Regions from separate parts of the Homo sapiens genome. Here all the other regions are linked to region 1. The links are contacts of gene promoters, found by promoter capture Hi-C in blood cells and fetal thymus (Javierre and others, 2016). All regions are on one chromosome and are shown on one strand. Each heading gives the region's core, a stretch centred on a gene start or on the middle of the fragment in contact. The rest is flanking DNA. Distances are from core to core; before and after follow the strand shown.

Region 1 (3,109 bases), core at 123-2,622:
TTAAACCAACACTTCATACAAATTTTGGCTTCTACCCCATAGCGTACTCAGGCTCCTTTTAATACAAAAGCTGCTCTGTTGCTTCCCTCAATAAAATTTACCACGTTTATTTCATGGCTTCACATAATCTGTAGCACAAGGCTCCCTAACTCCAGGGCACAAGTCACCTATTTGAGAAGGAAGGAGTCAGAGTTTTACCCACTAAAACATTTTTTTTTTCTGGAAGCCAAAGGTCTTTCTTGGAATATGTAGCTTTTAAGGAGTAAATATACACTTAACGACTTCAATATACTCTTAAAAACTTTAATCTTAACACTATAGTATTCTATAAGAGCCTGCTGAATGAGGGCAATTTAGTAAATATTTAGTAAATATTTGGTTTAACTCATCATCCAGTTTTAGAACCATTCCAAATGTTTTTAGATTAATACACGACATTTGTTTTCAACCTAATTTTCCCTTGACGCACCGCATCCCCTTCCACTAGTCTAGCAGCCCCATGGACAAACCTTTCTCCTCTCCCTCGTTATTCCTCTGTGATAAATTCACCCTGTCTTCCCACAAAGATCCTTCTTCCAAAACCCAGATCCCGGGCGACGCCTCTCCGCGCAGAAGCCGCGGGAGAAGGAGGAGAAAGAGGAGGAGTAAAGCAGGCCCTCTCGACGTCGGCCTGTGGGGAGCGATGCCGACAAGCAGGAGCGGTCCCGGCTTCGGAAAGGGCCCACCCTGAGGAATGGTCCGGCCGGGCCTAGCGAGGATGTCCCTACCGCGATGCTGGTTCCGTTACCCAGGGTGGACAGGCGCGGAAGCGGGACGGGGAAGAGCGATAGTTTCGCGGCGTTTGCCCAGCCTCAACCCCTGGGATGCGGGTGAGAGACATGGAGGACTGGTCAGAATTTGCGCGTCCCTGGGGCCGCACAAAAGGCTCCCAGCCGGCCTCCCGCAATGTCCTCACCTGTACCTGGCAGCCGACCCCCTGGATCCGCAGCGCCGCCAGGAGAAGTCCTGCGCAGCGCTGGGAAACGACAAAAGAAGGCAGCCTGACGGGCAGCGACAGCCACAGCAACAGCAACAGCCCCACTGCCGCCGGGGATTCCAGGTTCGGTTCCCGGGAACGAGTCCTGCCCCTCTTCTTTTGCCCCGCCTCCGCCCCAGAGGGGCGAGGATCCCGGATGTTGCCTCCTCGGCGCTGTGAATCACCGCCCTTTCTTCTCAGGCCCCAGCCCTTCCGAATCCGCTACGGGTGCTGCAAGGCCTGGGAAGAGTTTCGATGTCTCTAGGGTGGCTAGAGCGTCCTCCCGCGCTCAGTCGCGCTGCAGGTGACGGCGCCCGGAGGCTGTCGGGAAGTAGGCGGGGTGACGTGTGGTTGACGAGCTCGGCGGCGGGTTTGCTGAGATCTGTGGCCGGCGGCAGCTGGTGCGGGGGGCAGCTGAGAGCGAGAGGTGGATCGGGGCGGTGTGTGGCCAGGGCCATGACGGGCAATGCCGGGGAGTGGTGCCTCATGGAAAGCGACCCCGGGGTCTTCACCGAGCTCATTAAAGGATTCGGTGAGAACCAAGGGGACCGTCCTGGGCCTGGGGTCACGGGAGGAGGCCCAAGCTGGGCATGGAGTGGTTCCCTGCGGCCACCGCCGCCCCGCGTCTGGAGAGGTGACTTCAGGAACCTGGAGTCCGGGTGGGGGAAATGTAGATGTTCTGCCCTCTCCTCAGCTCGAGACAGTCGCGTTTCCACAGTAATTTGTAGAGCCACACCACGAGGGCAAGGATCGTGTCAGTCTTGTGCCTGCTGCATCCTCAGGACCTGGCACCCAAATCCTGTAATTGACTTGAGGGCCCTCGCTCCCCAAGCTCTTAAGCACGTATTGCCCTTTGCACTGCCCCTTCTCTGCGGCGCGCACCTTATCCCGGGCTGGTGAGGTCAAGTGCATTGCTCAGGCCATTAGTCCTGCAGAAGCCACCCTAGGGTGCGCCTTCTCAAGGGTGAGGTGTCTGCGGCTCAAGCCGCCCAGGAACTCGAGATTCTGGTTATTCAAAGCAGAACGCCTTGAATGTGTGAATAGCTCTTCGGGACGTCCACACACGCTGACTGCGTGGGCCTGAAAGGCCACTTCACTGGTTCCGCTCTCTGCTCATTTCTGGCTTCCGGTGAAGTGAGTTTTCTTGAGCTAGTGTTCTAGACTAGAGGCCACATGCTTTCCTCACAGTTTCTCTCTGGCTGTATTTAGTGCCTTTCGTCCTAAATAATCAACACATTTTACTTTTTATCCTTCCCTATTTATCTTGTTCTTAGTCTCTTCTTTGGACAGTACGTTTTTATCTATTTCCCAAGTGTTATTGACTCTACGATGTTAAAACTTTTACGCGGGATTAACAATTAAACGTTGATGTAGATATTGCCTGTTGTACACAGCTTAATATTTGGAATGTCATTTATCAAGCATATGTTGTTCATCTTCTATATCTCAGGCACAGTGGTAAGGATTGGGAAATTTTCTTTTTTTTGTTTGAGACAGAGTCTCGCTCTGTCGCCCAGGCTGGAGTGCAGTGGCGCGATCTTGGCCCACTGCAACCTCCATCTCTCGGGGTCAAGCGAATCTCCTACTTCAGCCTCCCGAGTAGCTGGGATTACAGGCACGCGCCACCATGCCCGGCTAATTTTTTTTTTTTTAGTAGAGACAGGGTTTCACCATGCTGGCCAGGCTGGTCTCAGCTCCTGACCTCGTGATCCACCCGCCTCGGCCTCCCAAAGTGTTGGGATTACAGGCGTGAGCCACGCGCCCACCCAAGGATTGGGAAATTTTCATGTGAATAAACCATAACTGCTGTTTCGAATAATTGACAGTCAAACTATAATATGGTGTGTTAATTGCTATGTTAGAGTATATACAAAATGTTAAAAGTACACAGGTCATGGAGGAGCACAGCCAGAAGGAAAAGCATAAACAGTAGTGATGTTAAAGTATATGGGTTAGCCAACAGCTAGCAAAGTGACTAGAACATAATATAGCAGACTGGAGGAATATTTATTTGGATCTGAAACTGAAAAGATAAACTGAGGACAGATTGTATGCCATGTTGTATAGTTTGAATTGCCCTGTAGTGACTGGGGA
Region 2 (3,163 bases), core at 616-3,115, 1.2 Mb before region 1:
CCATTTCGAATTGATTTTAGTTTATGATAAAAGGAAAAGGTCCAGTTTCAATCTTTTGCTTATGGCTAGAAAGTTATGCAAGCACTATTTATTGACTAGCGATTCCTTTCCCTGTTGCTTGTTTCTGTCAAATATCAGATGGTTGTAGGTGTGTGGCTTTATTTCTAGGCTCTCCACCATGATCCATTTGTCTATGTGTCTATTTTTGTACCAGTACTATGCTGTTTTGATTACTGTAGCCTTGTTGTATAGCTTGAAGTTGGGTAGTGTGATGCCTCTGGCTTTGTACTGTTTGCATACGATTGCTTTGGCTATTCAGGCTTTTTTTTTTTTTTTTGGTTCCATACGAATTTTAGAATAGTTTCTTCTAATTCTATGAAAACATCATTGGTAGTTTGATAGGAATAGCATTGAATCAGATGGTGGTTATAAATTTTCTCTTTCTATTCAACATTTTAGATACTTTACTATAATGTGTTATGTGTTATTATATACTATAGATTATATGTTTATATTATATATAGATATATAATATCTATATGATATTGATATATATATCATATATAGTTTTTGCGTGTATATATATTTATGGAAGGCCTGACTTTATATATATATATCTATATATATCTCCATAAATCTGTGACTTCATATCAGTAATCAGTTTTTGGAAATCGTTAGCTATTACTTATTCAAATAATTATCCTGTCTAATTTTTTTTCATTTCTAATGGGACTGCATTTGCACATATATTAGACCTATTCATGGTATCTCTGTTCTTTCTGTATTCTCTCTAAATATTTTCATTTGTTTTACTGTTCAGATCTCCAATCTTGTCTTTTGCTGTTTCTCATGTGTTTTTCAGTACAGCCCTTTAATTCTTAATTTTACATATAGCATATTTTCTATTCTTTTAATTTTCTCATAACTCATTTTATAAAGTTCAGTTCTCTGACGAAAAATTCCAATTCATCTTTATTTGGTTGAAAATATTAATTAATCTCATATTATAATTTAGGTCTCAAATCCTCATAACCTATTACTCCTCTGAAACTATTTCTTTGTTTCTTTTCTAATCTTTGTTATTATCATCATGATCACCATAATTAGCACCACCATTTATTTTTGCCCATTGCTATGACATGTAATTTTTTTTTTTTTTTTTTTTTTTTTTTGAGACGGAGTCTCGCCCTTTTGCCCAGGCCCGAGTGCAGTGGCGCTATCTCGGCTCACTGCAAGCTCCGCCTCCTGGGTTCACACCATTCTCCTGCCTCAGCCTCCCAAGTAGCTGGGACTATAGGCGCCTGGCTAATTTTTTGTATTTTTAGTAGAGACGGGGTTTCACCGTGTTAGCCAGGATGGTCTAGATCTCCTGACCTTGTGATCTGCCCGCCTCGGCCTCCCAAAGTGCTGGGATTACAGGGGTGAGCCACCGCGCGTGGCCTATGACATGTAATTTTTTAAATGGAATTGTGCAGAAAAAAAATTAGAAATATTTTAACACATTGGCTTGTCTTTATAGAGTTTTTCTTTCGTTTTTCACAGGTAGTTAAATTTGGGCCATACCACCTTAATCCAATATGAAATTAAGCTTATTTGAAACTGATTACAAATCATTATGAGATCTGGTCTACATCTTACTTGATTTTGTCTTCATGCAACTGGAAGACTAGTGTATTCATAAAAATTGTTCCACCTCTGCAAGCCCTGAACTGTAATCCATACTTCCATAGTCTTGGTAAATTGCTCATAGCTATCTTCAGTTTCCAGACTCTAGAATTCAGTATAGGTTATTGGAAATTACCATAATTCAGTTAGTGATTGAGCTAATACTTGGTGGGATTTCAATGTTTGTGACAGCTAGTCAGTTCCTAAGTTACTGTTTTTTTAAGAGTATATTCCTTCAGGCCTCACAAATAAAAGGCTAAAGTATTTGTGTGCTCCTCCCCGTCAGGCTTACATTCAATTTATTTTATCCCACCTCTGGGAGATTAAAAAAATATATTTGTTCAACTTCTTGAATTCCATACCACCGTATGTGGATTGTCGTATCCCCAGATGGAAGAATCACACATAGGAAATCCACATTCACCTCTTTGCTTCTCCTCTGTCCAGGATCTTGTTCCTACAGGACTTGAAAGCTTTAAAGTGACTAATAAAAAGAAGTTACTCAAATTTTCTAGCCTTTGGTTGGAAGATTTAACTGAGACAAGCTAATATGCTTTTCCTGGAAATATTCTGTGGTTTATATTCAAAGATTCATTCTTTTGTTTCAATTATGCATATTATTTTAAGCATATCATGATCACTGAAAGTCACACCAAAATTCTTTACATCTTTTAATTTTTGTTTTGCAGCACAATTTTTGTATTGTACTATGTAGCACCAAGAAAGTGTATAATTTTCATATGTTAGCCACAGGTGAAAAACAAATTCTGCTTGGAGTGGAAATATTTTATTTTTCCAATTAACTTTTAACCTAACAAACACCATAGTATTAAAAATACGTTCAGTTTTCTTAAGAAGCAAAACCTACACAGCATAATTAACTCATGGGACTTTCTAAAGTTACAAGGCCAGAGTTGGGCATATTTAATGCTATCAATTAATTATCTAGAGAATAGTGGATATCCAGTAACTCACTCCGTGCTTGGTAAACATTGAGAAGCAAGCAACTTATTTGTTATAATGTCATTGGTTATTCTTGAGAATACATTTCCGAATTATATATGAAAGCTAATGGGTAATATGATTATTTAATACAATTTGTTTTATGAAAAACAATTCCTTAACAAAAGTCATAGTAAATGACAGCAAATGAATGAAACATTAACTATTTGTTAATCTCCTTGCTTCCCCTTTGCATGCGTAATTACTATTTATTCTTACAACACTTTGAGGTAGATATCAGGCTTTTATAACCTAAATAACTCACCCAAAATTACAGAGGTAGTAAGTGATACAGATATAACTTAAATATATCTCTTTCTGATTTCAATGATTGTTCTCTGAATAGAATTTTTCTTCCTGATTCGTCTTGTTACTTCATAAGTTTACAATTCATTCTCAAAGAGATACAGCAGCTTGTTGCCTGTTTATTACTAATATTGAATGAGCTGAAATACAATAATATGGATCAATGTAAGAAATCAAGAAATGTGTTTAT
Region 3 (3,305 bases), core at 364-2,863, 1.2 Mb before region 1:
GGGAGAACAGAATTTAAATACATAAAACTTGGCCCTGTATTCTGTTCTCTTGGGCACTGCTCTAGGTTTAGGGAGAAAGAGGGATACCATTTGCAGAACCCATATTTTCAGTGTGTTTGAGAAATAAGGTATTCAGATATGCTTATTTAACCATAAGGCCATCATTGTTCATCCTAATAATACAACTCATATTGTTGCTGAAATATTTTACATAAATGTCTAGCATTATATTTAGTCTGTGGTTTTGCAGACCCTATGATTTCTCAAATCAGGAGATCTCCAGTGACAGTTTTGTTACATGTTAGAGTGAATTTAAAGTGTTTTGATTATGTTTTATTTATTTTTTGAGGCAGAAATACTGTTGAATGAGAGGGGAGACTTCATATTTGCTTTGCATAGAAAAAATAAACATTTTATTTCTTTTTTCAGTTTTTTTTTGTGGGGGTTGAGAGTGGTTCTGTTTTCCAAATATTTTCATATATCCTCCATAGAACTTTAAATGATGTTTCACATGGTGTACAGGCTCAACAATATCTCCTGACAGGCAAGAATAGGAATAAAATAGTGAAGAATCCTTTCTAAGCTTGTATTCTGGGTAGTGAGACTTTGAATAATGAGGCCAAGGCAGCAATTTTCATCTCTATGTGGCCTCTTAGGCTCTGCTCTGCCGTAGTGTCATGAGCAGCAAGCTTATACTCTAAAGAATGAAGTGTGCTGCCATACCCGAAGGCAAAGCCCATCTGCTTGTTCTATTTTTCTTCTCATGCTCAGCCAAGTTCTAGAGAATAATAGTCCTGGGCTACAGGAAAGCATTCAGCTACCACAGCTTCCTAAACTAAAATTTCTGACATATGGCTCATGATAGGAAATGTTCAAATAAATAAGCTTAGGTCTAGGTGCTGTTCTGGATCCAGTCCCTAAGATTGAACTGCCATTTGGAGTAGAGATCTATTTACAAGTACGAATGTTATATATTCAGAATGAAGTATAGATACCATAGCGAATGAGTCAGCAACCTAGGTCCTCATTCCAAATAAACAGCAATAGTTTGTTCAAATCAGAAAACAACAACAACAGAAACAAACAAACATTATTGGGTAGATGATAAAACAAACCTGGGAAGCAATGGCTATCAGGCATATTTGTTGAAAATGTTCTATACTTAGGCAGAAGGTATGCATTCTGGTAACTTGGAGGGAAACTAATAAAAGTTGGCAGGAGCTCAATCCTAGAAGGAAACTTAGTCATAGGGACATGACAATGAAGGACAAAGTCTAAGGGAAATATGGCACAGAGGAGAGCTTGGCAGTTGGTAATGAAATGAGAAAGCAAGAGAGATTGATTTCTTCTCATGTTACTCCTCATGGTTGGCAGGGTATACGTATACCCTGAATATGGTCAGGGTTTACCACTGGGCTGGAGATAGTTTTAAGCATCCTGATGACCAGATCTCATGGAGAGCAAAGTAAATTGCATTGGAACTGACACTCATTTCTTTTGTATTGGGATAATCTTTCTAATCACAGATGGAATGGTTGATTTGTATTTCAGGATAAGTTACTCCCATTGACCATCTTCCCATTTCCCCCACCTCTCATCTTCTCATAACCGTCATTGTGCTCTCTACCTCTATGAATTCAATTATTTTAGATTCCACATTTAAGAAAGAATATGTATTTTTCTTTCTGTGCCTGGCTTATTTTACTTAGCATAATGTCCTCTAGATTCATCCATGCTTCTGCAAATGACAGAATATCTGTCTTTTTTTTTTTTTTTTTTTTTTTCCGGAATCTCGCTCTGTAGTCCAGGCCGGAGTGCAGTGGTGTGATCTCGGCTCACTGCGACCTTCATCTCCTGGGTTCAAGAGATTCTCCTGCCTCAGCCTCCTGACTAGCTGGGATTACAGGTGTGCACCACTACACTCGGCTAATTTTTGTATTTTTAGTAGAGACGGGGTTTCACCATTGTGTGTGTGTGTGTTTGTGTGTGTGTATGTGTGTGTATACTTGGAGGAATAAATGATAAGTATTTGAGATGGTGGATATGTTACTTAGACTCAACATTCCACACTTATACGTATTATTGGATCACTTTGTATCTCATAAATATCTACAAGTATAATTTGTCAAAGTTCAATAAAATTAAATTTTAACAAAATGATGCCCCTGGCCCAGATTTACAACCCTCTACCAAAAAATTGAGAATCAGCAGAAAATTATTCTTGCAGCTTTAGAGATACAGATTTTATTTTTAAATACAGAAATGAGTTCATTTTACACTCAGAAATACGACAAGATGGGCGCTTTTCTATGTTTCTCTGTGCTTAGAAACTGAAGCTTACTTCACCCTTTATCCAGCAGTGGAATCAGGTAAAAAATATCCCAACCATGGATTTTGGAATATTTACAAGCCTAAAGAGTGGGTTAGAGAAAGGTTCCTAGACTAGAAACAGAAGAAGGAAAGAGGAACTACTAAAGGAATGGAGAAGTTAAAGGAATATGAACAACCAGAATGATAAGTATATGCAGGAAAATAAAGGGAGCCTGAAAAGGGCTCATTCCACAGGTTAAATACTTCCATGTGACAACGCCTGAGCAAAGAAGACCCATGCTCAAGATTCAGGCTCAGGGATGTACAAGCCAGGCTGTGTGCATCATGGACATATGGTTGAAATATGATTTTCCTATTGCTCACCAACTGTCTTTACACACACTTTATCTTCAGCAGGCTAATGGGACCCCTTCAACAATAACAACAGGAAGGCTAAAATTTTCAGTCTTCAATCACTTAAACCATAAACTCGTAGGGCTGTTAATCTTTCTCTGACTGCTTTCCCCAGTTAGATTGCTTTCTCTTTTGACACTTATAATCCTTTGCTTTGTTTTGTCATTTATTTGTCAGGACTACATAATGAAGATCATATTTTTTGAAAAATATTTACTTTTATATTTTAGGTTCCCTTTGTTTGGGATTATTCTTTAGTCGGCCAGAGGCAACTATTTGCTTCAGGGATAAATAGGATTTACAGGAGGACTACAAAAAGAAAGAAGTAAAAAAAAAATAGGTTCACCTTTGGATTGCTAGAGTATCATCTCATGACAATTGTTTTGAAAACCAAGCATATTCAGAAGATTTTAAAACTTTCACTTTCCATTGACATATAAAGAAACTTTTTGTTGATTAGGTCATATAAATTTAATAAATCCAGGATGTTAAGCTGAGTAAGAATTCAATTTAATATGAAATATTAAAAGCCCCAATCATAAGAGAAAGAAATAAAAAAGCCAATAATTTATAGTCCCAGA

What was found. The method cuts DNA at HindIII sites, captures the fragments that hold promoters and counts their contacts. A CHiCAGO score of 5 or more calls a contact.
Region 2: a fragment that was not itself captured here is called in contact with the fragment with the promoter of UCHL5 in region 1 in 2 of 17 cell types (total B cells and naive CD8 T cells); the score reaches 6.7 in total B cells.
Region 3: a contact is called between a fragment that was not itself captured here and the fragment with the promoter of UCHL5 in region 1, in 9 of 17 cell types (total CD4 T cells, naive CD8 T cells, naive CD4 T cells and 6 more). The highest score is 13.6, in total CD4 T cells.

What each region holds. Positions count from the first base shown.
Region 1 is chr1:193,057,623-193,060,731 of GRCh38, reverse strand. UCHL5 (ubiquitin C-terminal hydrolase L5) reads left to right here and starts at 1,372. Exons shown (of 11, transcript NM_001199261.3): 1 at 1,372-1,547. The coding sequence starts at 1,472. RO60 (Ro60, Y RNA binding protein) reads right to left here and starts at 1,120. Exons shown (of 9, transcript NM_001173524.2): 1 at 956-1,120. RefSeq lists enhancers at 221-953, 1,021-1,550, 954-1,686, 1,711-2,020. The HindIII fragment of the contact is 5,498 bases long and covers 1-3,109 here.
Region 2 is chr1:194,274,481-194,277,643 of GRCh38, reverse strand. All of the region lies in intron 2 of LOC107985242 (a long non-coding RNA gene), which reads left to right. Among named protein-coding and RNA genes, the nearest start is that of LINC01031, 970 kb to the right of the region's middle. The HindIII fragment of the contact is 550 bases long and covers 1,591-2,140 here.
Region 3 is chr1:194,298,508-194,301,812 of GRCh38, reverse strand. All of the region lies in intron 2 of LOC107985242 (a long non-coding RNA gene), which reads left to right. LOC105371670 (a long non-coding RNA gene) reads left to right here and starts at 1,867. Exons shown (of 3, transcript XR_922390.2): 1 at 1,867-1,906. The HindIII fragment of the contact is 1,451 bases long and covers 888-2,338 here.